Regions from separate parts of the Homo sapiens genome. Here regions 2, 3, 4, 5 and 6 are each linked to region 1. Evidence: promoter capture Hi-C in 16 types of primary human blood cells and fetal thymus (Javierre and others, 2016). All regions are on one chromosome and are shown on one strand. Each heading gives the region's core, a stretch centred on a gene start or on the middle of the fragment in contact. The rest is flanking DNA. Distances are from core to core; before and after follow the strand shown.

Region 1 (4,824 bases), core at 1,209-3,708:
TACAAGAAATTTGAGTACTATTATGTTGCAGAAATATTTTAAATTGTTTAATATGTTTGTTAATTGGACATTGAACTAAATTATGTTCTACACATTTCATTCAAAATATAAGTAAAAAACCAAAATATTTAGTTGTCATTCAGAAGTATTTCATAAACATGAACTGTCATTTCACATTATCATACTAAGATCAGATACAATGCATATTTTCTTTTATTAAAGTAGAAAGCTACAAAGACCAACACCACTTCATTGCTATCAATATCACTGTACATAAGAGTTTCATTTTGCAATTATTATACAAAAAATGAAATACTGGAGTCCAAGACAAAGACTGTATACTGACATATATTTATACTGCTACCTGGAGCTACAAAGAAGGGGTGCCTGGAGAAACAGAATGGTGAGTGGAAATGTACTGTTGGTATCAAGGATTTCAGTCTATGCTGTAAGAAAATTAAACTTTGAGAAATCTCATCCTAGAAGAGCTGAGAATCTGGTACAAGAACCAAGGTGCATGCAGATGAAAAAGATTTTCAAACACTGTCATCACACAATATGAATAAATTTGTAGAATCATGGAGACCTGAAATTTTTGAGACAGTATGCCAGAGTATAGAAAGAAGTCAGAAGGTATTTATATTTTATTGGTTCTGCAATTTTCTGGCCCTGTGACCACAAGTTAATCAATTACTCACTCAAGGTGACCATCATCACTCATGTGGACTACTGCAATTGCTTCCTAATTGTTCTACTTCCATTCCTCCCCCTACCTTTAATCCATTCTCCACAAAGTAATCAATATCTTTTCAAAAATGTGAGTCAGATCACATCACTTGTATGTGTCAAACATTCCAATAGCTTCCTATTACTTTTAGAATAAAATCCAAACCCTTGGACATGGCTTAAAAGGCTGGTATTACCAGGCCTTTGTTACCTGTTCTGACCCCATTTCCTACCACTTTCCACTCTGCTATGTTGGGAACACAGTGGCCTTCTTTCTGTTCTTCAATCATTCTATCTCTTTCCTTCCCCTGGGCCTTTGCTTGGCCTGGAATTGTTATTGAGTAGGTAGCTCCTTATCATCGTTCAGATCTAAACTCAAATGTCACCTCTTCAAAACGTCCTTACTTTACTACCGCTTCTCATGACTGTCAATCATACTATGTTATTACATTGTCTTCACTGCACTGATTGTTATCTGAAATTCCCTTATTTCGGTAACTGTTACTTGATTATTTTCTGAGTCCCTCAGCAGAAAGGACACTCCATCACTGAAGTGATCTCCCGACTTGTTCTGTGCTATAGTGCCAGCAGGTCGATTGGTGTCAGGCCCACAGTTGAGAGGGCAATAAATAAATAAAATGTCGAATGACTAGTTAAAATTTCTCAGGCCTCCAAGTTCCTCATCCACATAGTGGGGATAATTATACCTGCTCTGGCCATTAGAAATGGCCACGTAGCAAGTAGAAATACAGCCTAACTTTTAACTACATTCTTACTATGCCTCAGTCATCATGAAAGACGTTATATGAATATTATTCATTTACTGTTCTGATTTCCATTTTACAAGTAAGGACACCAGGTCTTAGAGGACAAGTAACTGACCTAAGGGCACAGGGCCATGGTGAGGACCCGGGTAAAAATCCAGAACCCCCTAACCTCAGAACCTGAGCTCTTAACTGCTATTTTATAGTTTCTAGAAAGATGCTTCCTTCTAACACAGTAAAATCCGCTATGCTGTCTGCCCCCCTCGAGTTCGTCCTGTGGGACAACTGAAGAAAGCTATTACATCCTCCCACGGGGTTCGTTTCTTTCAGTCTCTCCTTAAATGGCCCTCCTATCCTGGTCACTCTCTCCAGAACAAACTTCAGCGTGACAGCCTCCCTCCTGCTCCAGCTGTGGTGCTTTCCACTGGGCAAGTTGTAAGGGGCATCAGAGCAGGGGAAGCCGACTGCCCACGGGCTGAGAAAATGCAGGTGTCGTGGGTGCCCATGAGGGCTGCGGTTAACACAGCAAGGCTTCCTGAGAGAGGTGATACTTGAACTAAGTCCAGGGCAGTGAGCACAGGAGCCAGCGGCCAAGGGACCCCAGGAGAAAAGACCGCGGGAGAGCGTCGCCGGGGCTGCCGGGTCGAGACAAAGGCTGGTGGAGTTTAAATAAAGATCACAGGCGCAACCCCAAGTGATGGCAAGCTTGCACGCGGACGGGCGAAACGCATTTTCCTAAATGTTAAGAGACGTTCTGGCGAGAAGCGAAGTGGGAGTAACAGTCACAAAGCAAAACGCAAACTTACCCGTAATCTGGCAACCCGGCCTCCGTAGCCCGACTGCAAGCGCTGCCACCTGAGGAGCCTGGTAGCCAAGGCAGCGGCAGGCTCAACCCAGATCTCGCGAGACGGAGCACGCCTCGCGAGATTTGACCTCTCGTCCCTGAGAGGCGGGTGGGTGTTAGTTCAGAGGGTTATGGGAGGGCTCTGGCGTCCTGGATGGAGGTGCGTTCCTTTCTGTGGCTGGCGCTGGATCCACCCTGGGTCTCCAACCAGGGCTGCAGAGAGGGTAGAGCCGTTTCTTAGGCCAGAGTGGAGTGGGACAGGAGGTGCCGAGAGAGGACTGAGGTGGCTTGGGACATGGAAGCGCTGCAGCCTTCGAGCCCGGCATCCAGCATTGCAGCCGCCGCGGCGGCCTAAGAGCTCGAACCCTTTCACACGCGCGCAGGAGGAGGAGCGGCGGCGGCAGAACAAGACGACCCTCACTTACGTGGCCGCTGTCGCCGTGGGCATGCTGGGGGCGTCCTACGCTGCCGTACCCCTTTATCGGCTCTATTGCCAGGTAGGGGCCGGCGCCGCCCGCAGGGTGGCGCAGACGCGAGAGGTGGGGGTGCAAGACAAATCCCGGGACAAGCCCTCGCTCTGCGGGTCGTAGGTGGAAGAGGTTTCCGATATTATCTACCTAAGAGGAGAGAGGTTCAAAACAGTCACTTAACACCCAAAGTCACCAAAGAAATTGGTGACAAAACTGCAAGTAGCATCCAGTTCTTAGTGATTGTGCTTATACCATGCTGCAGAGTGAAACCCCTGATCTATGAACTGCACCTCGCCAAAAAAAAAAAAAAAGGTCCGCAGCCTCTAACCGGGTATCTAGCAGTCTGCCTTACCCTCCTGCGCACACACGCTTTTAAAATGTATTATTCATACATTCACTCTGCAAACCACATGTGGTTTATGTGCCAAGGGTAACTCTGGAAATTGGACTACTCGTGTTTCTTGGGCTTAAACTGGGATTAGCAGTTCCTCCGTACAAAGAGGCATGAATTAGGCCTTTGAGGCTCTCTCGCCCCACCCCTGTTAATATATAACTGTAATGTACTTAACCTGGAAACTGTTAAGTACATTGCAACGGTTCTGGGAGTGTGGCGCCCAGGACCGGCAGCATCAGCATCACCCGGGAACCTGTTAAAAGTGCAAATTCTAGGGCCCGACTCCAGGACTGAGTCAGAAACACGGGGTGGGGGGGTGGGGCGGGGAGAAGAAGGGGAGTGGGACCAGCACTCTATATTTTAGTTAAGTCCTGTAGTTGATTTTGAGGGCAAGTTTTGAGAACCACAGGCAAAGACAAGTTTCACGTATTTTAGAGATTTCTCCTTTGTTCTTAGCTAATAATTTGCAGCTTTGGCTGGCCATTAGGATCACCTATGGAGCTTAACGTTAAATACACGTTCCAGGGATCCCCTACCCCAGAGATTCTGGTTAGGAAGTCTAGGGTAGGGACAGGAATTTCGGTTTAAAAATCATGCCACAAGTGATTCAGTAAGTGTTTAAGATAGTGGCTCCCAAAATTCATTGTACAGCAACATTGGGAATCACCTGGACAGCTTCTAAAAATCCACACACATTACCCATTTTATCACAAGGCCACAGTGGGAACCAGGCATCAGTAATTGTCAAGTATGTTTTAGGTGATTCCAGCGTGCAGGAAAGTTTGGGAATTGTTTTTTTAACACCATGACTGGTATTCTTAGCTGGAGTTCACTCTTTCCGTGTGTGTGTGTGTGTGTGTGTGTGTGTGTGCGCGCGCGCGCACGTTTATTTATTTAAATTTGTAGAGACGAGGTCTCCCTATGTTGCTCAGGCTGGTCTCAACTCCTGGGCTCAAGTGACCCTCCTGCCTTGGCCTCCCAAAGTGCTGGGATTACAGGCGTGAGCCACCATGCCCGTGGAAATCAATTTACCTTTCTTTTAGATGATGAAGCAGAAGACAAAAGGACTTTTCTTTTCTGGCATAGTCTCCTAATGCCAGCATTTATGTGGGAATGTGCAATAGTTGATTTTGAGGATGAGTATAGAATGTGAATTACTTTTCATCAGAGACCAAGCCCAAGCATGAATTCTAAAACTACCAGTTGGTTAAATCATAAGCAGAACTGAATCCAAATCAGCAAATCTAGATCCTTCTCAGACCGCCAGGAGATTTTTGCCCCTCAGGGAACATTTAGCGATGTGTGAAGACATTTTTGGTTGTCACAACATGGAGGTGGGGGTATAGGGTGCTACTGGCATCTAATAGGTAGAGGCTAGGAATGCTACTAAATAACCAACAAAGCACTGCCTCACCCCCAAACAACAAAAAATTATTCAGCCCAAAATGTCCATAGTTCTAAGATTGAGAAACCCTGCCCCAAACTGAAATAACTGATAATATTGCGTGTGAAATGTGCCCACATGCAATCATAGATCAGGAAGCCAAATGTAATTTGTAATCTATCAGGTTCTTAGAGCTAGTAGCACAACTAGAATAGAGACCAGGACATCTTTTTAGTGCTGTT
Region 2 (4,824 bases), core at 995-3,494, 790 kb before region 1:
AAAACTTATTTGGCAAAACTTTTATTGCTACTATAATAAGATCTGATGTGTAAGATCTCTTAAAATTAGAGATATAAATCTTTTGCAATATCGGTTTTATTTTTCCAAGCTTACTAACATTTGAATAAATGACTCCAAAGAAGCTTACTCAAGAGATTCTTGGCTTTTCCTGAAGCTCCTCCAGAAAACCACCTCTAACAGTGGCTCAATTTCCTTATCTAGACTAAAATATAATGGATACTTTTCTAATGCTCCAGTTATAAGACATTTAGTTTCCTACAATTCAAATAGTAAAAGGATTATGTTGGAAGTAGAGAATTAGCCAGTATCATGTACAGAATGCAACTGCCAGAAGAAACATAAGACTTGATGTGGTAAACACTCCTTCTCCTTATTAAGAGAACCCCGTGGCAATGTAAACAGCCAATAACTTCCCTGGTCTCCTCTGCAGGGAGAGGTAGCCGTGTGACTTATCCCTGTTTTAAATGTGGACATGATGGTTGGAACTGCTGCAACTATCCTATGACCAAGAGGCAATCAACATGAGAAACAGAGTAGAAAGACTCAGAGGGTTGCTGGCATCACTGAATGCTAAATCAATGACAGCAAACTCTACCAATAGGTAGAACTCTGACCTATTTATTAGGTGAGATAAACATGCCTCTGTTTGTCATTGATTGTCCAATTTTCTATTACTTGTAGCTAAAAACAATCCTAATTGACATAGTGGTCCTTATCAACAATGCTGAATTTTATTTGAACCCTGTCATCCTAGATTACAGTGAAGGTTAAGAAATCCCCTACCTTTTGTGTTTCATAAAGTTTACTGTGAAGATCCACTACCCTTCCCCATATGACTTAGATAAGACTCACGGATGCCCCCGTTTACCTATGACAAGGCCAGACACAGACCCTCCAGATTTCCCTTTCTTTGTCTTATAAATGATTAGCTAAGCTGCCCACCCCCACTGATCAACCAGAACAAAATGCTTGTTAACCCAACTGGTTGAACTTTTCTCCTTCCTCCAGGCCCCTGAACTTTGGCCCATCCTAAACCTGAGCCAGCATACAGTCCCTCCTGAAAACAGGCTGGGCTCAGGGAAAAGTATTCTCTGATCTGCTATCCGATCATGCCATCCTTTCATCCCACATCCCCGCATATGGTTCTTTCTAACGTTCTTTGCTCCTCTTTATAAAAGAACGGCTCTGCAACTCCCAAGATGCCTGCAGAGCTTATCGGCAAAGCACTTTTCCTACTGTAATACTTCTTTCCCTAACTCCTTGAAATAATCCATTTGAATACAAGTCTCTCCTTACCAAGTCCAGATTTATTTTTAAAAATCTGACATCAAGGTAAAAAAGTAGACTGACAGAATAGTGCTGGTAAGACTTATGAATATTTACAAGAAATATAATTATACATAAATTCATTAAAACAGTACAGAAGTACATAAATGTTGCTAAAATGTACTGTCAAGGAAGAGATAATGGACACTTTAATGGATATTAAATTGAGATACAACATTTAGTTTTGCACAAATGCGTACAAGACCCTACATGCCATGTTATAAAAAGTACTGTCTCCTTTGAATAACTAACTCAGAAAAAATATATATAAATATATATAGAAATATTATTCTACATAAATATAATGTTATATATAGAATATATATTACATATATTTATATATTATATATTTTATATATAATACCAGCAGATATATATGTGTATATATAATGCCAGTAGGTATATATATTTTTATATATACCTGCTATAGTACATATAGTGAATACCAGCTGGTATTCACTATATCTTGATCCCAAGAAGAAACCAGGCAGAGGCTTCTACTTGACTGCAGACTGGATTCTGTTTCCCTTGATGATTTATTAACAATACAACAAAAGTCATGTATTTTGTATTTGAAGGAGTTTTCTAATCCCTTTGACCTGCTACAAATTCTTTCAATAATACTAGTCATTGTTTTTCTAAGCATGGTCCACTTTCCAACGTTTTATATTCATTCTCTCATGTAACAGCTAAGATAGCCCTGTGATGTAGATAGGGAAGTTGGTGTTATCTCTACCTTTACAGAAGGAAATGATGCTTAGAAAGGCCAACTTACTTGCCTAAGTCCTACAGCTAGTAACAGGACAGACAGAAAGAAATGGTGTGTCTTTGCACACTGGCCCCTTCTATTCCCTACAATGTCTCCTTATTTAGCTGTATTTTCTCTGCATGTCATTCCCAAATCATTGTTCCAGACCACAAACTAATGATAAAGATAAAGAAGACCCATCACACAGGATCTTAGAGCAGGAAGGGGTCTTAGCTTAGCTGTGTAATGTGAGTGACTTGCCAAGAGTCAGCTGATGACGCTGTTGGTGGCAAAGCCTGGATGGGAACCCTTTCCTTCCCTAAGCCAGTACTCCTGCTCCAGGCCACCCAGAACGGACCTCCCACTGAGATGCTCCCCTGAGTCCCTAAGCCTGGTGTGTTTGCCCAACAGGCCTCCAAAGGGCCAGAAGAAGTATTTTTTTTTAGATGCTGCTTCTGAAGGGTTCAGAAAGGAACCAGGAGAAAGGCAGGTATAGAGAAAGATGAATATTATCACTTTCAACAGATGAGGTACTGTGCCAAGTTTTTCCATATACTATTCCAAAGTGCTGTCTCATAAATCAGAAAAGCTAGTCAGAAAAGACAGTGTGGTGGTAATAGCATGGGCTCAGATTCACCGTCTGGGTAGAATCTAACCTCTTCCACTACTAACCTGCAAAATGGGTCTAATAAGTTTCTACTTCATGGAATGATTATGAGGATTAAACTAGATAATCCATCTAAAGTTCTATTATGTGGTGCACATAATAAGTACTTAGTAAATATTAGATATCATTCCCATTAATAAGGTAGGTTACTATTTCATTAACAAGGTAGGTACGATAATCTCCTTTTTCCAGATTAAAGAACTGGGATTCAGAACTGTAATGTACATTTTCAGGAAAACCAATATCTACAGTGAACCTGCTCTAAGCCAGGCTGGGCTTAATCATGAATACTTGCAATAATCCTGTGATGTAAGCATCATTAACTCCACTTTATAAGTGAAGAAATGGAGGCTGGAGACAGGGGAATGCATGGCCAGGAAATCTGTTACTGTTATCACTAATTTTTGAGATGCTATCGTGCTGGCTAACTTGTCGAAACATTAAACTGGTATATTTCTCAGCAATGGTGATTCAAATGCGTGAAAAAAAACATCTGTGCAATTTGTTTTCAATTATATTTACAAGGTTAAAGTATTCTGAGAAATATTATTGTCAACAGTACACTTATTTGTCCCAAACAGAATAAACTCTGAAAGAGATGCTATGCATTTACATATGAGATGTGTCAAAATGTCGTAATGTTTGCAAATGACACTTGCAATCCCCACACAGGAGTAATCTCCTGTAGATGTCCCATCACCCATCCAGGCCTGGAGAAAGGCACCACTCATTACCTCCAATTTATGGTGTTTATCTGAATTTACACCACTAACTACAAGGTGGTCTTGATAAATCACATATTCTCAAATCCTGTGAATGCACTCATGAGTGTGCATTGAGTTCTCTTTGCCTCTCACAGAAGCGCTCATTTCCATTCCTCAGAGGGACAGGAAACACCCCCAATCTATTTATCTAAAAGCTGTCCAAGTCCATCCACTTTGGGGCAAGTAATAGACTCAGATGGTATGAAAAATAAGTATTTTTCATCAAAGTAAAGCAGTTCTAATGGCAGAAGTCAAAGCTGCAGCTGCTGCTGGGAAGTATGTGCCAAGACTCTACAAAGACAGATAGTTGGCTAAATCTGATTTAATATTTAAGACCTCTCTAAGAAAATGTGATAGGTCTAATCCTTCAGGGTTGCACACAGCTAGGTAAAACAATACTCATAGCTGATGTTTACTGAGTATTAACTGAACAGCAGGCACTGATCCAAGTGCTTTTACATGGATTATCCCACTTAATCCAAATAATGATACGAGGTATGGACCATCAGTAAACCCACTTTTCAAACAGGAAAACTGAGGCTTAAAGATGTTCTGCAAAATGTCCAGAAAAGGCACATGTATAGAGACAAGAACCTCTATTCAGCATTGCCCCAGATTCACCTGCTGGTTCACTCCAGATGTTGGTATGGTATTATGTCCAAGCATTCAGAATGCCTATACCCTTCCCTACAAGTCATCTCTCTTCTCAAGGGATTCCCAAGGCTGAATGAAATATCAGTGTTTTGTTTTATTAATAGCCACCTCCTGTAATCGCCATACAGCAATCTGGTGAAAGACAGAGTGAGAGCATAAAGCTTGGCTTATACCTGGAGACAGAAGGGAGGCATCTTACTCCTTCCTCTCCCCTCCTTCCACCAAATCTGAACCTTGAGACCAGCATTCTCGCATGGCCTCATACCCACAGGCTTATCCTAAGACAGATGCGAGGAGAGGGAAAAACTGAGACTCTAACTTATCTACCCAGTTGCACACTCAAGGGAGACAGAAAAGAAGGAGCTGGCCTTGGTCTATGGTGGGAAGTAGAATGCCACAGACGGGTGTCCTGGAGACATGGTGGCTCTGCCCACAAGTAAATTTCAGCTCCATAAGTGACCAGGGCTCAAGAATGATTCTATCAATCACGCTGGTAATCAGAAGGATGACAGAAAGGAGCAGAACAGTTTTACAATCCTGAAGTAATGGGGCTCATGATGCTAATTGGCTTATTATCCCATCTGGGGAAATAGGAGTAGGGATTTCACATCTATAGAGTGAAATCTCTTCTCCTGTGAGATGGA
Region 3 (4,824 bases), core at 1,211-3,710, 780 kb before region 1:
CCTCCATGACATGATGCAATAAGTTTATAATATCACCTAAACATTTTTGCCAAAATATCTAACTTGTAACTAGTCATAAGACCCCAATCAGACAAATCCAGTAAGTGGAAAATTCCTCAGAATAACTACTAAAACAATTCAATATGAAAGAAACTATTCTAAAAGTCAAGGGAAATAACAATTATGTGTCATGCATAAATCTTGAGTCGTGGATTAGGAAAAAGCCATTAAAAGGCATTTCTGGGATAATTGGGGGTATTTGTTTATGCACCACTTTTAGAAAATATTATAAAACTATTGTTAACTTTGTAGGTGTAAAAAATGTTATTGTGGTTGAGTGGAATAATATTCTTATTCTTGAGAAATGAATGCTGAATTATTTAGGGGTGAAGCAGCATGATACTTGCATCTTATGTTCAGATGGTTCCATTAAAAAAAGTGTGATTGATATATAGATAGAGAAGCAAAAGTGACAAAATAAATAATTGATAAATTTAGATGAAAGGTAGCCAGGATTTTATTTTCTATTTCTTCAACTTTTCTGCATATTTGAAATTATTCAAAATAAAAATTTAGGAAAAACCCAGATATATGTATTTATAAGAGACAATAACTAAAACATAATTACACAGAAATGTGAAGTTAAAGGTATGGAAAATATATACAAGTAAATCTGAAACAAAAGAAAGCTTGTGTGACTCCTAAAATATCAGACTAAATGGACTTTAAAAGAAAAAAGTTAATAGAAGTTTCTGAGTTAATGGTAAAAGGATAACTCTTCAGGTACTCGGAATGCTTAAATTTGTATGTATTCATTTTACAACTTAATCTCAAATATGTAAGGCAAAAATTATCATCAGTATAAGGAGAAATCAGCAAATTCATCATTACAGTGGAACATTTTAAGGCTCTTTTTTAGGAAATTGACCAAGCAGACAGAAAAACTGGTAGATAGGGAAGATTTAAGCATAAAACTCATACGCTTGATCTAAAGGTCATATATAGAACCTCATACTCAATAAGTAGAACACACCAACATTTGCAAATCCTCATAAAACATTCATTAAAATTGGCAATCTTGTAAGCCACAAAGGATGTTTTCAACAAATACAGAAGAATCAATACTGTTCTCCAATGACAATGCAAAAAAAGAAAAAAGAAAAAGAAGAAGGAGCAAATGAACAAAAATAGCCAGTTTCTGCCCCCTATACATCTGGAAACAACAAAAAAAAAACAAATACATACTTATTCCAGGAGCTAGCCCACAACTAATTCCTTGTATTAAATTCATTTCTGCTTAGATACCTAGAGAGTGTTTGTTTTCTGCACTGACCTCTCACTGATACTATACATATGGCTTAAGATATTTAATATTTTAAACACCATTTCTATCTATACAAACTATAAATCCAATGGTATTTAAATAGATTTCCATAAAGGGTGTTCAAGGAACTTGACACACCAATTCTAAAATTCATAAGGAAGTGTTAAAGGTCATGCAATTTGAAAACATAGGAAAGCAATTTTTTAAAGTAGGAGGGAAAAAATAAAAATATTCCCTGTAAGATATTAGGATTTATCATAAAGAAAATAATATCATATTGACCTAGGGCTAGGGAAAAAGTGATTTAAAAAAAACTCATGTAACAGCTTTCTATCCATCATCAAGTCCATGTACATTTCGAAACACAGTACATAAGCACGGATGGACAATTTTAAAACTGCTGTTGGAACAACTGGCTATTGTTATTTTTAAAATTATATTCCTGTATCATATCATACAATAATGGAAATTGCAGACATGTAAAGAACCAACTGCATAAGGCAAAATGTGGAAACTTTTAAATTATAATATAGGAGTAAATCTTTATGACCTAAAAGTTAAAAAAAAATTCTTAAAGACACAATACAGAACAAACCATAAAAGATTAATTATTGCCTACTTTAAAAAGCAAGAGTTCCTGTTCAGTCATACACTATAAACAAATTAAAATCCATCACATAGATTGGTAGAAGACATTTGTTACTCACATAGCCAACAAAGGATCAATATTGAAAATATACAACAAAATTTCAGAAATCAATAAGAAAGCCCAAATAATGCAACTGAGAATATGAACAGTGGAAAATCCCAAACAGCATATATACAAGGAAAAGCTGTTCTACTTACATAGTAATTGGAAAAATGCAAAATCAGTTGTACCATTTCATTTACAGAAAATTGGCAAAAACTTTAAAATCTGACTTTAGGTGTTGGTGAATTTTCAGGGAAATGGAAGTTCCAACATAAAACATTCTGGTTAAAGTGCAAATAGTAGTTTTAAAAACAACTCAACAAGACCTATTAAATGTGAGAATACACACAGTCTGACCCAGCAGTTCCACTTTTGAGTATACCTGAGAGAACTGATAATACTGCATAAGGATGCACATTATTTTAGTGGAAAGAACTTGGAAACAACATAAATATCCACCAACCACAGAGTAAATAAATAAATAAATATGTTCATCTGATAGTTTTTTAAATAAACAATATATATACTTGCATATCATGAATAAATCTTGAAAACTGTTAAATGAAAAAGGCAAGTCACAGAAGGATGTACAGGGCAAGAAACTTCATAGTGTTTATAAACTATACATATGCCCTGAAGTGTTTAAAATGTAAATAGGAGGGATTCAGATTAACTTCAGTGGTAGCTGTAATATTTTATTTTTTAAATAAAGTATAAAGTAAATAAGGCATGATATTAATGTATATGCTGGGTGGTGGGTTCATGAATGTTCTATTACTATCTGCCCCTTTTGGTGTTTTTGAATTACACATAATTTAAATTTAAAAATTCTAATAAAGGTATAATTGTAATGAAAAAATAGCAGAAAAAAAACACCATTTTGGAATGCTATTAAAAATAAATGAATGAATGTTCACAGATGTCTAACTGCATAGAGAACACACATGCATTACCTGTTGATCAACTTTTTTCAAGAAATTGAGATACTAAAAGTATACAGTATACATCCCCTTATCCTCAGGGGATGTGTTTCTAGACCCCCAGGGGGTACCTGAAACCACGGATAGTATTGAACCCTGCAAACACTATGATTTTTCTTTACTGAACCCTACATACACTATGATTTTCCCTGCCTATACATACCTGTGATAAAATTTAGTTCATAAATTATGCACAGTAAGATATTAACAACAATAACTATTCATTACATAGGATAATTAAGTAAAATAAGGGCTACTTGAAGAAAGGCACTGAATTATCAAGACAATCTGATAACTGAGCTGGCTGCCTTCCAGCAGGTGAGTCACTCAACGTAGACAGAGTGGATACACTGGACAAAGGAATAATTCATGTCCCAGGTGGAAGGGGTTGAGATGGTGCAACATTTCACCACGCTGTTCAGAATGGCACACAATTTAAAACTTATGAATTCTTTTATTTCTGGAATTTTCCCTTTGAATATTTTCAGACCTCAGTTGACAAGTAACCGAAACCTGAAAAAATGAAACCATGGCTAAGGAGAGGCTACTGTATCTGTTCTTATTTACTAGTAAAAGCTATTATGCACCGAGCAATTGAGAAGTGAATGAAATACGTGGTATCATAGAGAAAACATCTGGGTAAGACCAGAACTTCTCACTTCCCCTAAAGATATTTTTCACATTGTAGAATTAATTTTGTATGTGGATTCCCAAGACAAGAGTCAAGGACAAGTTCTAGTCACTTTAAGAACCAGACAAGTCACTTTAATTTTTTAAACCTGTTTACTTAACAGTGATGTAAAAATAATAATGCCGATCTCAAGGATTTGCTGACATGATTAAACAGATAATATGAGCAAAAGCACTCCGAAAAGTGAAAGTGAACACTTGATAGGCATTTCTAAATTCTGCAGCAGAGTCGATTTTAATGTTTCAATTGCCATCCAAATCAGTTTAGTTCTAGTCTATTCAACTTTTACTATTGCATGTCTACTCCTATTAAAGTACAGTAGCACGCCTGTAATCCCAGCTACTCGGGAGGCCGAGGCAGGAGAATCACTGGAACCTAGGAGGCAGAGGTTACAGTGAGCCAAGATCGCGCCACTGCACTCCCACCTGCGGGACAAAGTGAGAATACATCTCACACACACACACACACACACAAAAGCACTAGAGTTTTATCATGGTAGGGCAATGAAGAAGCAAAAAAAAAAAAATGTCATTTTATAAGCTTTAGAGACCACTGTTCCTGGCCTCTAAAGCTTATAAAATAACTTGCAACAGTCAGTTAATAATAGTTTAAGCCTGCCGAGTACTCATTATGGACCAGGAACTATGCTAAGTGTTTTCATTTAATTCCAACAATTTCACCGTGAAGTCAGTTCTATTATAATCTCCAGGTTGCACAGGAAGAAACTGAAGTTTAGAGAAGTGAAGTAAGTTGTCCAAGGTCTCATGGGCAGGTCAAAGGCAGAGCTGGAGTTTAGAGTCAGTTCTGTGAGATTTCAGAGCCCCCTTTCTCATGTTTTGGGCATCTATTATGGATGTCAAATCTGCAGGCATGAAGCAGTGAACACAGCTTCTAACCTCATTACATTTATAAAGGTCTTCATTACCAAAAGGCTTTTTATGAACCATTATAGCCATAAATGTCATATAATGTCATGCTGAAAAATAATTTAGATATCACCTTTAATGTATTCTCTTTCTTATTTATGTATTCATTCATTTGACAATTGTGTATTTATCATTAATAAATATTTGTCAAATGAGTGAGTACACTAATAGATAAAAGAATACATTAAAGGCTACATCTGAAAGCTCCTTCA
Region 4 (4,824 bases), core at 1,541-4,040, 610 kb before region 1:
TAATGTGGCTGTTGTACAGAGGGCAGAGTGGCGGAAATGGTACTAATACTTTCTGTTTTTCCTCTCTTCCTAAGTTTCCTGGCTGACATTTTACTACATCATCACGTACGGCGAACTGGATTGTGAATGCCCTTAGATGCCATTGGAAGGGATTTAGATTTCACTTTCTAAGTAGGCAATGCGAGTCCATTCAGAGATTGTGAAGTGGAAGAATATCATGATCAGATCTGTGTGGCTGATGAATAGAGACAAATCTGATGTCTGGGGTTATATTATTGAGATTCAATAAATGCTAATTCTATACTTACTTATTGAGTGCCTAATATGTGCAAAACTTCATGCTGAGGAATAAAGCATAAAGAAAATAGATGAAGTTCCAATCCTCATGAATCGTCTTGTCCAGTGGGGTCATTACTGTAGTCCATAAAAAAGATTAATTAAATCAGATGAGAAACCTGAGAATCAAAGAATACTTGGCCTAACCATAGTGCCAGTGATTATTTTATGCAATCCTCTCACATTTACAGAAAATAAAGACGCAGCTAAGAAAGAATCACAGTTCTAACTTGAGTTTAGCGGCTGCATATTTGGATATGGGCTATAATTTCAGATAATTTCAGACTTGGGAATCTGTGATACAGAAATTTAGGCATGAACCTTAAACAAAGTATTCCCATGAATTATAGTTGCTCAGTGGTATTTATCTTATCAGAATTTCTCATCAGTGAGGAATAATATGCAAGATACAACAAAGAGCAATTTTGAAAAGGCACGCAATGGTGCTACTTTTTACCTTAAATTTACATAAAAATACACAGGCTGGGCACAGTGGCTCACACCTGTAATCCCAGCGCTTTGGGAGGCCGAGGCAAGTGGATCACTTGAGGTCAGGAGTTCAAGAACAGCCTGGCCAACATGGTGAAATCCTATATCTACTAAAAATATAAAAATTAGCCAGGGGTGGTGGTGTGCACCTGTAATCCCAGCTATTTGGGAGGCTGAGGCAGGAGAATCACTTGAACCTGGAGGCAGAGGTTGCAGTGAGCTGAGATCGCACCACTGCACTCCAGCCTGGGCAACAGAGCAAGACCCTGTCTCAAAAAAAAAAGGACAGATAAATGTAGATATAGATATAACTAGACTTTTCATTTGCATGGTAACATGATGATTGTAGAAGGCTATGCACAGAGAGGCTATGTCAGCCAGGAAGCTTAGGAAGAGAGGAAATACAAAAAGAGCACTGGAACATCAATAATATGTAGCACTGTAACAAACCGTCAACTGCACACACATGAGTATCAGCAAAAGCACACCCTGAGGTCTGAAAGTTCCATGTGAATTTTAAATTCTGTTTTCACTTCAATGATAATACATCACTGAACTTAATCTAAAAACATTCTGCCTGTTCTAGATGACCACTGGATAACAGAGTTTTTCCATACAATTTCAGGGCCCTTGCTTTTGTGACGCTAATTGCATTAGCACTAAGTGAAGGCCAAATGACCCCACAGAGCACTTTTTAATTGAAGGTTTACAGTTGTACAGAGAAAGGAATTGAAAACTGAAACATCACGTAGAAGAACATCACATAGATACCTTAAATGCAAAACTCCTTGTGCTGTGTCTGTCAGTAGTCTGTTAAGTTGTGAGTGGATGCTATGATATCCACTTCTCAGTATAAGTAAGAGTAATAGATTCATGTGAAGAAATGTCATTCAGTTTTTTGGGCTGTAATGCCTATAATAATTATTAAAAACAATTATAGGTTGGGTGCAGTGGCTTACGCCTATAATCCCAACACTTTGGGAGGTCAAGGCAGACCAATTGCTTGAGGTCAGGAGTTTGATACCAGCCTGGTCAACATGGCAAAGCCCCATCTCTACTAAAATTACAAAAATTAGCAGGGTAGGATGGCACATGCCTGTAAACCCAGCTACGTTAAGAGGCTGAGGCATGAGAATCGCTTGAACCCAGGAGGCAGAGGTTACGGTGAGCCAAGATGGCGCCACTGCGCTCCAGCCTGGGTGATAGAGTGAGACTCTGTCTCAAACAAACAAACAAGAAATTATAAATATATATTTATATATTTAGCCCAGTTAGAATTTCTCCTGGTTTTATATATATACACATATATACACACACACACATATATATGTATATATATAAATTATATATATAAAATAAACCAGGAACACACACACATATATATAATTATATATATATAATCGCATATACATATAATCTTGTTATTTCAACAGCTTTTGGGGTACAAGTGGTTTTTGGTCATATGGATGAATTGTATAGTGGTGAAGTCAGATTTTAGTGCACTGGTCACCAAGGAGTGTACATTGTACCCAATATGTGATTTTTCATCCCTCACCCCTGCTCACTCGCCCCACTTCTGAGTATCCAGTGTCCATTATACCTCTCTGTATGCTTTTGTGTACCCATAGCTTAGCTCCCACTTAGAAGTCAGAATATATATTTGGTTTTCCATTTCTGAGTTACTTCACTTAGAATGATAGCCTCTAACTCCATCCAAGTTGCTGCAAAAGACATCATTTTGTTTATTTTTTATGGCTGAGTAGTATTCCATGGTGTATATATAACACATTTTCATTATCCACTTATCAATTGATGGTCCATTATCTTTGCAATTGTGAATTGTGCTGCCATAAACATATACATGCAGGTGTCTTTTCAATATCACTACTTCTTTTCCTTTGGGTAGATACCCAGTAGTAGGACTGCTGGATTGAATGGTAGATTTACTTTTAGTTCTTTGAGAAATAGCCATAATGCTTTTCATAGAGGGCTGTGCTAATGATGGCGCCTGCAGCCCATCTGGGGCAGCCGCTGCCATTACGCTGGCTGCAACAGCGAAGCTCAGCCAGGGCTGCACACTCCGTGGAGCTGGCAACAAGTGGGAATCACAACACTTCCGAGCTGATGGGGAGGGAATTCCCCAGGTGCAGCCACAACAGCCCAAGTCATGGCTGCAGACTCGGGCCTCCCACTCCACAGAGCAGGAAGGAGCCCCACCCCCTCGGGCACAGCTGCAGCCACCAAACCCAGACTGCACAGTCGGGCATCTCTGCACTGTCGGGGCATGGGAAGGCCTCCCCTGAGAGGAGGAGAATCTCTTGAACCCGGAGGCGGAGGTTGCTGTGGGTCAAGATCGCGCCACTGCGCTCCTGCCTGGGCAACAAAGGCGAAACTCCGTCTCAAAAAAAAAAAAAAAATTTTTGAAGTAGGGACTATTATTATTCCTATTTTACAGATAATGAAACTGAAGTCTTCAAGGAGATTATATAATTTGCCTATGTTTACACAGCTACCACGTAGAAAATGTGGGATGCTACGCAGTCTAACAGCTTTCATTTTCAACCGCATGTGATACTGATTCCTGCTGTGAAAGAAAGAATGGTAATTTCTTGGAGTTACAGTTCAGGGAACTATAACAGTGGGCCCTGACACAGTATGGTGCGGGGAGAGGGTCCAAGAAGGCTTTTCCTGAGGAAATGAGGTTTCAGCAGAGAAATGAAGGGGAAAAAAGGAGTTAACTAGGCATGTGGAAGTTGGAGGAGCTTTGTATGTAGAGGAAACCGCATGCAGGGCGGGCCTGGGTTGGAAAGCAGCATTATGCTCTTGAAGAAGTGAAAGTTCATTCCACGGGCTGTTGTTCACTTCATGGTGGCGAGGCTGGAAGTGATGATGACTGTGTGTGCCATGGGGAGAGAAATGAACTGATGTGGGTCAGTGCATTTCTGCTCTGACTACCCGGGGGCCCATCACTACAGCAGTGGCCTTATTTTTCCTATTAAGTCTCTTTCAGTTTGAGTTCAAGATCACTAGCATATTATCCTTTTCTCAGCCCTGTGTCTGCCTTCTCATTAGTATTTGGATGAAGATGAAACTCCTTAAAATCCCTCCGAGTGCTGCGTGGGCTGGAGGCTTCTGCTCTCCGCTGTCCTTTTCACCCTGCTCCCTCCTACTCTCTGTGCTCCCAGCTTCTCACTACGCTGAATATTTTTTTTCAGTCCTTTATGCTCCTTTTGTCTCCTTTTGTCTGAGTGATTGTCCTTTCCCTCTTTGCTTGTTCATGTATTCAAAAATTATTTTCTAGCACCTGCTATGTGTTAGGCACTGTTGTAGGCACTGGAGTTACAACTAAAATTCAAGACATGTATGGAGGGGTTGGGTTGGGAAGGGCAGACAGAGAAAAAAGAGGAAGTAAACAAGAAGAAATAGCAGCTCATGATGACATCATGCAGAGAATTAAAGTCAAAAGATCTGATGGAGAGAAACTAGGTGTAGGTTGGATTGGGTGGTTAGGGAAGACCTTTCTAAAGATGTAATATTTAAGCTTGAGATCTGGATAACGAAAGGAGACAGACAGACAAAAGTAACAAGGAAAAATATGTCAGAAAGAGAGAACTACAAGCTCAAAGGCCATTAGCTGGGAATAAGCATGGAATGTTTGAAGAACTGAAAGAAGGATTGTGTGACCAGAGTGGAGTTAGGGGTGGGGCTCGGGGTGGGAGTGGAAATAGTAACAGTTGAGTCAAAAGTTATGAATGTCGGGTGTCGTAGGGCTGTGTGAGTCAGTGGGAGGAGTTTAGATTTTATTCCAGTTACCACTGGAGGGATTTTAGAAGAGCGACAGGATAGGATTTACCTTTTAGCTGAGATTTACCTTTTGGCTGCTAAGTGGAGAATGAAGTCTTGGTGGAAACACTGAAATAGTTCACGAGAGAGGGGATGTTGATGTCTTGGCCCTGGGTAGTGGTGTGAAAGTGGTGGATTTTGCATACTATAAGGGAG
Region 5 (4,824 bases), core at 1,533-4,032, 540 kb before region 1:
TCTTTGTGGCTAGAAGAATCTTCCCTGTCTCTTCTCACTTAGCTAAATTCTACTTATCCTTCAGGTCATAGGTTAAATGTTGCTTCTGCATGGAAGCTTTTTTGACCCACACTGGGACACGCTGTCCTCTTACCCTCTATTTGTCCCTTATAAACTGATTTCCACTGTTCTTAAATGGCGAATTGTGCAATTATCTGTTTAAAGGCTATCTTTCCTGCTAGACTACCTGCTTCTCTGTCTTATCACTGCCATATCCCCTTTGCTTAGTGTAGTGTCTGAAACACAGGAAGTAAGTACTCAAAAAGTAGTTTTGAATTAACTAATGAGAAACATGGCAACAAATGAAGAAAGGGTGAAAATATCAGGCACTAGTATCTTCTTCTTGTTGAAGAATCACATTTACTTCCAAAGCCTACTGACCTAATCTTCCAAATCACTCCATACATGGCACTAAACATCCCTTATACAAAGACAGCACAATTGTCCAGGACAATCCAATTTTTAGCTGTCATCATGGAGTGCTTATTAACAACACTTACTTTTGCTCACCAAACTGCCTGTGTGGATGCTGAATTATGTGAATGCTCTACTTATATACCATGATCCAGTAACTCATGAGCCATCTCTCTCTCTCTCTTTCTCTCTCTGTGTAGGCGAACTGATGACAGACAGCTTCTGTGTTTTGGTGGCTGTGGTATTAACAGCAAGCTTAAGTTATTAAACCGAGCAGCTTTAATCCTCGAGGTCTCCTGGAGCAGTAGGGATTAATGTATTTTTACTCCAGAGCCAATGTAGCTATTCCGATGCTCTAAGATCTGCTCTCTGCAATGCCCAAACTGACCCCAATTGCCTTTCTCTAGACCCACTTCTCCACCGTGGGAGAAGTGATGGAATTCTACTTGGAGATCGACCCTGTTACCTTGAACCTGATCATCCTAGTTGCGAGCTACGTCATCTTGCTCCTGGTCTTCCTCATCTCCTGCGTGCTATACGACTGCCGAGGCAAGGATCCCAGTAAGGAGTACGCGCCCGAGGCCACTCTCGAGGCCCAGCCCTCCATCCGGTTGGTGGTGATGCACCCAAGTGTCGCTGGGCCCCACTGGCCAAAGGGGCCTGGCCTTTCTTTGGGGGATCCTGCTCCACTAGGAAAGAAAAGCACCATGGTATGAGGCTGGCTAAGGGACACTGGGGAGAGACCACTAGACTTTCCATAGAGACAAACTGCTCCCTATCGTGGCTCCAATTCTCTCAGCACATGTATCCCGCTTGATGAAGGAAGTGAGAGCTCTGTCTTACTTGCTGTTTTCTCGTCACCTTCTTTGTGACAAAAGTAACTGTTTAAGGTAAGAAGCCCAAAGTGGTCTTTAGTCAAATTCTCCAAATGCAAACTGTCAGCAATGCTGTAGTATAATGAAGTTGGTTACTGGTACATTTCTGATGTTGCTGTCCTTGCAACTCACAGGAGAGAATGACTTTTGAGAAAGGATGCAATATTGTGTGTGTGTGTGTGTGCACGTGCACGTGCGTGTGTGTGATAAGGAATGAGACTAACTCCAGTCTAGTCTATTCTTTGCAAATTCTTTCTTTCCAAGGCAACCAGTTTTTTGTTGTTATTTTTCTTTTCTTTAAGAGACAGAGTCTTGCTCTGTTGCCCATGCTTAAGTGCAGCAGCGTGATCATAGCTCACTGCAGCCTTGAACTGGGCTCAAGCAACCTTCCCACTTCAGCCTCCCATGTAGCTAGGACTCTAAGGTCATGACACCACGCCTGTCTTTTTTTTGTAGAGATGGGGTTTCACTATGTTGCCCAGGCTGGTATTGAACTCCTGGCCTCAAGCAATCCTCCTGCCTCAGTCTCACAAAATGCTGGGATTATAGATGTGAGCTGCTGCACCCAGTCAAGGCAACCCCATTGAACTTGTTCAGACTTCAGAACATTATTATTTCTGTACCTACCAGCTCTTCACGTTCTATTCCCAACTCCAAGACAGAATAAGGAATGCATACAACTAAAACAACAAAGCTTGGAGCCTGGGTTCAAATCCTGCCTCTTCTACTTGCTAGCTGTGTGGCCATGGTTAAGTTGAGCCACCTCTGTGTCTCAGGGATAGTGATTGGACCACTAAGCTTTTGGGGCTATTTAAATGAGTTAATTCACCAAAAGCACTTGAGACAGTTCTTGACACACAGGGTTAGCTATGATGATGATCACTGATAATATTTCCTTCCATATGCCTCATAAAAAATTTAATCTCCAATCCTCAAATCCGGCCTGATCCAATACAAAGTTATTGAAAACTCATTGAAAGAATTCTGAGACCCCACAGCTTGGTGTATCTGTCCCCAGAACACTGCCTGCTCTCCCTTCACTCTCTTTGTTGATGTTGAATGGTATGTTTTTTCCCCTGTTCATTAGTCTATTTCCAAAATTTTTGAATTATTATCTCCATTGTGTGTATTTTTATTAACCCTCCCTTCCCTGAGCTCAGAGAAACGTATGTATTTACTTTGAGATTTACTGAACCTCTTCTTTCCATCAGGACCTGTGTGGAAATAAAGAGAAATGAGTGTCATGACCCTGCCATATGATCTTTGCCGCCCAACAGAAGGAAGCAGGGTCAGGCATGACTTAGACAATGAAAGATAAGAAAGCTTTGCAGATGCTCTTTTAGAAGTCTGCATAGGATGCAGGAGTCAACAGAGACACGAGTGTCTGGCACACAGAAGACACTCAAGAAATATTCGAATAATGTTGAATGGCCAATTTCATCTTAGACTCAGGTACCAAAGATAAGATGATTTGTCTTAAAAGATAAGTAGTTATTTTTCCAGAAGAACCAAAGTATGTTGGAATCTTGAAGGGTAGGACAGGAGATGGCCTTTTAGAAGAAGAAATAACAAAAACAAAGCTTGAAAGCAAAATAATTAGAGTCCATTGGTTGTGAAGGTCTGATGGTGTCCAACATGTGAAGAAAACGTGAGAAATTCAATTTTGGTTTCTCCTGTAGAAAACTGAAGAGGAGGGCCTGGCCAGCCTGCCCTGCCAGCTTTGACAATGAGCACTGTTTTGCCTTTGGATTGTTAAGTAGCTGTAACAAACGTGAAGATAATCCCAGTTACTTTGTTTTCAGGTTTTGATGTTTATTTTTAATTTAATTTGTTTCTTATTTTATCAGAAGATTATATTTTCTCTTAAGTATGTGATTTAAAAACTATATTGAAAACCCTTCAGAGGAAATTTGTTTTCTTTATGAGCAAGAAGCCATCTTCACTTTTTTTTTTTTTTTTTTTTTTGTTCTGAGACAGAGCCTTGCCCTTATCACCCAGGCTGAAGTGCAATGGCACGATCTCGGCTCACTGCAACCTCCGCCTCCCGGGTTCAAGCAATGCTCCTGCCTCAGCCTCCCAAATAGCTGGGCTTACAGGCATCTGCCACCACACGCAGCTAATTTTTGTATTTTTAGTAGACACGGGGTTTCACCATGTTAGCCAGGCTGGTCTCGAACTCCCGACCTCAGGTGATCCGCCCACCTCGGCCTCCCAAAGTGCTGGGTTTACAGGCGTGAGCCACCGCGCTCAGCCACCATCTTCACTTTTATAATGAAAATATAAACTGAATGAAGAAACACCATAAATTCACAGGCAGTTTCTAAGAACCTACCCTTTATATATTATATACTTATATTCCCATGAAAGGGAAAGAAATAAGAAGGTTAGTTCAGATGAAGCTCACATTAAGAAAAGGGCAGGTTCATATATATATATATATATATATATATATATATATATATTCCTAGGAATATATATATAAAATATGTATATATTTTACGGGAATATATAGAGAGAATATATATATTGAATGTATGTATTTCTTTTTTTGTTTGTTTGTTTTCAGGACAAATACTGACACCTTTTTATTGCGTTTTGCACTCTTAGAGGTAGAAAACAAGGCACTAACTTGGTTGTGGCAGCATTAATGAGTATCCTTGTGGAAGGGGTGAGGGGGATGTTGGGCTATGAAACCAGATTTAGACAGGCAGTGTAAATACAACACTCAACTCTGCTCTTTTCATTGTGTGTTTGTTACAAGGCAAAGCAGTAGGTTGGGGCCACTCTAATGCACCACCAGACACTAATAGCTCATATTTACACCAGTAAACCAAATGGTTGCATTTAGGGCTAATCCAGCAGCCAGAGGGGTCCCTTAGGCTTGTGTTGGTAAAAGCACCAGTCATGCCCAACCCAGGGTTTCTCCAGTGCCTTGTAAAGGGACTGCCAGCAGAGCTCTTTAATTTTTATGTTTATCAAATGATGTTCTGTGTTTCTTCTTATGACGAAAGAGGAATCATCTTTAAATGTCAGCACGACGCCTGGCTTAAGTCCGCAGGCTGATGGACTGAACTAATGGGAGAATTGCAGTTCGGAAGAGGTAAAGTGCGCATGCGCAAAGCCAGTGGTCTTTTTACCATTCTTTTTTTTTCTTTTTTTTTTTTTATTATACTTTAAGTTTTAGGGTACATGTGCACATTGTGCAGGTTAGTTACATATGTATACATGTGCCATGCTGGTGCACTGCACCCACTAACTCGTCATCTAGCATTAGGTATATCTCCCAATGCTATCCCTCCCCCCTCCCCCCACCCCACCACAGTCCCCAGAGTGTGATATTCCCCTTCCTGTGTCCATGTGATCTCATTGTTCAATTCCCACCTATGAGTGAGAATATGCGGTGTTTGGTTTTTTGTTCTTGCGATAGTTTACTGAGAATGATGATTTCCAATTTCATCCATGTCCCTACAAAGGACATGAACTCATCATTTTTTAT
Region 6 (4,824 bases), core at 823-3,322, 520 kb before region 1:
ATCTAGTGAAATGGGCATGTGGAGCTTCATTCATCGTCAGCCAGTTCTGATCAGAGGAATTAGAAAGGCCTAAAGTTACTAGACATTTGGGGTCATGAGGAGAGATGCAGATGGAGGTAGGAGCACCCAGAGATAGAGAGAGGAACATGCCAAGGTAAACCTCATCTGTTCTGAAATTTTGTCTAAGATTCCCCATAAAAGAAAGCTCTTACTGGGCGGGGAGCCATAGCTCACGCCTGTAATCCTAGCACTCTGGGAGGCAGAGGTGTGTGGATCACGAGGTCAAGAGATCGAGACCATCCTGGCCAACATGGTGAAACCCTGTCTCTAATAAAAATACAAAAAAAAATTAGCTGTGTATGGTGGCATGGGCCTGTAGCTCCAGCTACTTGGGAGGCTGAGGCAGGAGAATCACTTGAACCCGGGAGGCGAGGTTGCATTGAGCGGAGATCACGCCATTGCACTCCAGCCTGCGCAACAGAGCAAGACTCCGTCTCAAAAAAAAAAAAAGAATAAAGGAAAAAAAAAAAAGAAAGCTCTTTCTTTCTTTTCTTCATCTCAATTCACTGTTTTATGTCACATAAGAATTAATACTACTCTACTCTTGGAAATTAACATTAAGCATAAAGTAGTAGAATGGATAAGAATATATATGGATGCTAGTGATATACTGCCTAGTTCAAACTCTAGCTTTAAACTCACTTGACATATAACCTTGGGTAGCTAATTTCTCAGTGCCTCCGTTTCCTCATACGTAAGATGGGAATGATAACAGTAGATACCTGCCTTCCAGGGCTTATGGAATTAAATTAACTATAACATACAAAGTACTTAGAACTTCATTAGCAAGCACAATGTATATTAGATATTAACATTATTCTATAAACTATAAATAGGCAAATAGTTGTGTTCTTAGACCCAACAACCATAGACCATGTTGGTTTTTAAGAAATGCTTTTTTCTGCTGGACACAGTGGCTCACGCCTGTAATCCCAGCATTTTGAGAGGCCGAGGTGGGGGGAACAATTAAACCCAGGAGTTCAACTCCAGCCAGGGCAACATAGGGAGACTTCATCTGTACAGGAAAAAAAAAAAAAATCAGCAGGGTATGGTGGAACACACCTGTGGTCCCAGCTACTTAGGAGGCTGAGGTGGGACTGCTTGAGTCTGGAAGGTTGAGGCTGCAGTAAGCTATGATCGTACCACTGCACTCCAGCCTGAGCAACAGAGCAAGAAAACCTTGTCTCAAAACAAAAGAGAGAAAATGTTTCTTTTCAGATTTAGATTTTTATTTTGATTATGAATATTTTCAGATATACTAAGACATAGAGAAAATGGTAGACAGTCTCCATAAAATTATCACCAGTAATTATCAAGATTTTGCCATATTAGCCTAATCTATCCTTTAATAAAATATTTTAAAGAAAATCATATATATCATGTCATTTTACCCCTCTGTATTTCATTATGCATCTCTAAAAAATATGGATAGTTTCTCACATTACCTCAATTTTCTTACAGTATCTGTGACATAAGGATTTCTTGGTATCAGCTAAACCCAGTCAATGGCAGCATATTTCCCTAATAGTTGAAATCAGAATCCAAACCTGGTCCATCATCACATTTGGTCCTAATATTTCTTAACTCTCCTTTAATCTAGAACAAGCTTTCTTGCCTTTGCCTCATGCCATTGACTTCTTGCAGAAGCCAGGTCAGTCATCTTTTAGAATGTACCACATGCTTACAGTGACCACGCCTCAAGTTTTGCATGAGACAGCCCCAGTTTATACCTTTTGTCCCAGTACAATTATGAGTAACACTCCTCTACTCTTAGTTGCCTACCCATTGGGAGTTTGTCTTTTTGTTTTACTGTCTGCTTTAATTTGTTCTATCTGCCATATTTCCTATACATTGACATTAGCGAAAGGCCTGATGCAGCCTCATCTTTTTTGATAAGAATTCTTCCCAGATGGTTCTGTTTGCTGCAAATATCCTTGTACTGGGAGGTTTATAATGTGTGATTGTCCCACTTTTAGTGGTACTCAAATTGATGAGTGAATTCTGGGAATATAAGCATGATCAAGCCATTGTAAAGTTCTTCGTCTACCTTTCATCTCACGGTTTCATTCCTTGTTGATAATTGCTTGAATCAATTATTACATTCGATGTTAGAAAACAGCTCTAGCTCTATCAGTCCTTCCATATTTATTGGCTAGAATTTTTTTGTAAAGAACTTTCCCTTCTCAGTTAGGGCTTGGTTATCCTGCAGTGCAATGTATACAGAATCAGTGCTTAACTCTTTCCTTTTAATGGTCAATTTTCAGAACGGGAAGTTGAAACCTTAGTTACTTCAAGTAGTGTCCAATTTATTAATTTTTTTGAGTTTTTTTTGTTGTTTGTTTTTTGCTATGGTGATTTTTTTCTGTTTAAAAAATTTTGTATCATTATAAATTCATGGGTTCTTATATGCTAAGCTTAAATACATTTATAAAATAAATTATCCTCATAAATTAGGAGCAGTCTATATTAGTCAGGGTTCCCTGGAGAAACAAAGCTAATAGAATGTGTAGAGAGAGAGAGAAAGAAAAAGAGAGAGATTTATTTTAAGAAATTAGTTGACACAGGCCAAGCACGGTGGCTCATGCCTGTAATTCCAGCACTTTGGGAGGCCAAGGCAGGCAGATCACTTGAGGTTAGGAGTTTAAGACCAACCAGCCTGGCCAATGTGGTGAAACCCATCTCTACTCAAAATACAAAAATTAGCGGGTACACACACATCATCCCAGCTATTCAGGAGGCTGAGGCTTGAGAATCACTGGAATCCAGAGGCAGAGGTTGCAGTGAGCCAAGATTGTGCCACTGTACAGAGCAAGACTCCATCTCAAAAAAAGAAATTAGTTCACACAGTTTTGGGGGCTGGCATTTCTGAAATATGTAGGGCAGGCAGGCAGACTAGAAACCCAGAGGAGAGTTACTGTTGCAGCTCAAGTCCGAAGGCAGTCTGGACCTCAGTCCTCGTCTCTTAAGCTTTTCGACTGACTAGAGGAGGCCCACCCACATGATGGAGGGTCATCTGCTTTACTGTTCTACTGATTTAAATGTTAATCTCTTTTCAAAAGTACCTTCCTAGCAACATCTAGACTGGTGTTTGACCAAATATCTGGGTACTGTGGCCTAGCTAAGTTGATGCATAAAATAAACTATTACACTGTCTCCATATTTTAAAATAACAATAGCATCTCAGGGTAGAAAATGCAAAAAGTGGTAGAATCAATGCTTACTGTGAGTGTTCATATGTGGGAGAGAGCACTCAGGCCAAACCCAACAAGAAACATTTGAATTTGTAATTTCTGAATGTTCTGCTGGTTTTCACGCTAGACAGAGCTGACAAAAAATCCCCCTGGTTCTGCTGCTTCCTATGTAAACTTGAGGAACTCACATTAGTTCAATGAGCCTCAGAATCTTCATCTAAAAAGCAAGGATAATAGCATCCATTTGGCCTGCCATTTGACAGCCAAGAGTTTGTGCACATTTTGAAATCTCTGTATGTTACACAAATATGTTATTAGACTACTTTTGTTAAGACCCAATGAACCAGAGTGTCAAACAAATGTACCTTGAAGCTATAGTCGTAAGTGTAATGCTGCATTACAATGTTCAATGACTTTATTTGACAGATGCCTTTACTCTCAGGTCTCACATTTTAAGAAAAGGGAAAGTTGTTATTCTTCTAAGGGAAAAAGAGTAAGAGCACTAATTTTCCATATGAATGCCTCTATCAGTAAGTACATGTTTTCCCTGTAGTCTCTAATTCTCTATGTCAGCAATGTAACAATGACAAATGCAAAGGATAAAGGTAGTTATCAATGTAATAATGACAAATATGCAGGCTGTCTCTTTGTTATCCATTCAACAAACACTTATAAAACGCCCACTAAATGTGAAAGACTATGCCAGGTGCTATTGAAGACACAGAAATGAATCAATCCAGATTCTGTCCTCAAGCAAACTATAGGCTATTAAGAGGAAGAAACCATAATTAAAAAGGAAAAATCTATAAGATTTGAATTGAAAAGTACAATGAGAGTGCTTGGTAACAGCCTGTGGAAGCCTGGAGAAGGAGAGATGAGTTTCAGTTGCAGGTTCCAGACAACTTCTTGGACAAGGTGGCACTGAAGCTAGGCTAAAGAATAGGAATAGATTTGGACTCATGAGATAGGCAGGGTAGGGCAGATGAAAGGTGGGGAGGATGTTGTGGATGCGGTGGGAGTATAAGATAATTGAAGGGCCTAAGAAGTAGGAAAAAAGTATGGACACATGCTATGTGTGGCAACCAACGAGTTCTTTCCTTTACCTCTAACTTCTTTCTCTGCAATTTTAGAAAGGGTCTTAGGATTCGTCTAATACTAGGATGGCAAAAAGTCTTCATCTGTCTAGCTCACCAACTTCAATTGATGGGTAACAGAAGGTCACACCTGGTTGGTCAGCTCAATGGAGAGGGTTATTGTCCTATACCACTTCATAAATTAAAGTTTTATTAAAATCATGATGCTTGGCTGGACACGGTGACACATGCCTGTAATCCCAGCACTTTGGGAGGTCGATGCAGGAGAATCGCTTGAGTCTACAGGTTTGAAACAAGCCTGGGCAACATAGTGGAACCTCATTTCTACAAAAAAAATAAACAAAATTAGCTGGGCATAGTGGCATAAGCCTGTAGTCTCAGCTAGTTGGGAGGCTGAAGTGGGAGACTCACATAAGCCCAGGAGGTTGAGGCTGCAGTGAGCCAAGATTGCACCACTGCACTCCAGCCTGGGCAACAGA

Evidence for each region. The method cuts DNA at HindIII sites, captures the fragments that hold promoters and counts their contacts. A CHiCAGO score of 5 or more calls a contact.
Region 2: a fragment that was not itself captured here is called in contact with the fragment with the promoter of COX11 in region 1 in 1 of 17 cell types (naive B cells); the score reaches 5.5 in naive B cells.
Region 3: a contact is called between a fragment that was not itself captured here and the fragment with the promoter of COX11 in region 1, in 1 of 17 cell types (total B cells). The highest score is 6.6, in total B cells.
Region 4: a contact is called between a fragment that was not itself captured here and the fragment with the promoter of COX11 in region 1, in 1 of 17 cell types (total CD4 T cells). The highest score is 5.7, in total CD4 T cells.
Region 5: a contact is called between a fragment that was not itself captured here and the fragment with the promoter of COX11 in region 1, in 7 of 17 cell types (naive B cells, total B cells, fetal thymus and 4 more). The highest score is 8.9, in naive B cells.
Region 6: a contact is called between a fragment that was not itself captured here and the fragment with the promoter of COX11 in region 1, in 1 of 17 cell types (total CD8 T cells). The highest score is 6.4, in total CD8 T cells.

What each region holds. Positions count from the first base shown.
Region 1 is chr17:54,966,288-54,971,111 of GRCh38, reverse strand. It overlaps COX11 (cytochrome c oxidase copper chaperone COX11), which reads left to right and starts at 2,458. Exons shown (of 4, transcript NM_004375.5): 1 at 2,458-2,831. The coding sequence starts at 2,466. STXBP4 (syntaxin binding protein 4) reads right to left here and starts at 2,347. Exons shown (of 18, transcript NM_178509.6): 1 at 2,297-2,347. RefSeq lists enhancers at 2,030-2,079, 2,160-2,259, 1,490-2,438, 2,440-2,519, 2,530-2,589 and 1 more. The HindIII fragment of the contact is 10,915 bases long and covers 2,198-4,824 here.
Region 2 is chr17:55,758,427-55,763,250 of GRCh38, reverse strand. The region is part of intron 1 of PCTP (phosphatidylcholine transfer protein); the gene reads right to left. Among named protein-coding and RNA genes, the nearest start is that of PCTP, 9.8 kb to the right of the region's middle. The HindIII fragment of the contact is 4,198 bases long and covers 146-4,343 here.
Region 3 is chr17:55,741,753-55,746,576 of GRCh38, reverse strand. No RefSeq gene overlaps it. Among named protein-coding and RNA genes, the nearest start is that of PCTP, 6.9 kb to the left of the region's middle. The HindIII fragment of the contact is 3,537 bases long and covers 692-4,228 here.
Region 4 is chr17:55,576,053-55,580,876 of GRCh38, reverse strand. It overlaps LOC102724732 (a long non-coding RNA gene), which reads left to right. Exons shown (of 3, transcript XR_429997.4): 3 at 75-307. Among named protein-coding and RNA genes, the nearest start is that of SMIM36, 67 kb to the right of the region's middle. RefSeq lists enhancers at 3,915-3,984, 3,664-4,824. The HindIII fragment of the contact is 3,156 bases long and covers 1,213-4,368 here.
Region 5 is chr17:55,507,398-55,512,221 of GRCh38, reverse strand. It overlaps SMIM36 (small integral membrane protein 36), which reads left to right and starts at 770. Exons shown (of 5, transcript NM_001395421.2): 1 at 770-1,343. The coding sequence starts at 888. The coding sequence ends at 1,169. The HindIII fragment of the contact is 257 bases long and covers 2,654-2,910 here.
Region 6 is chr17:55,481,727-55,486,550 of GRCh38, reverse strand. The region is part of intron 1 of SMIM36 (small integral membrane protein 36); the gene reads left to right. Among named protein-coding and RNA genes, the nearest start is that of SMIM36, 27 kb to the left of the region's middle. The HindIII fragment of the contact is 808 bases long and covers 1,669-2,476 here.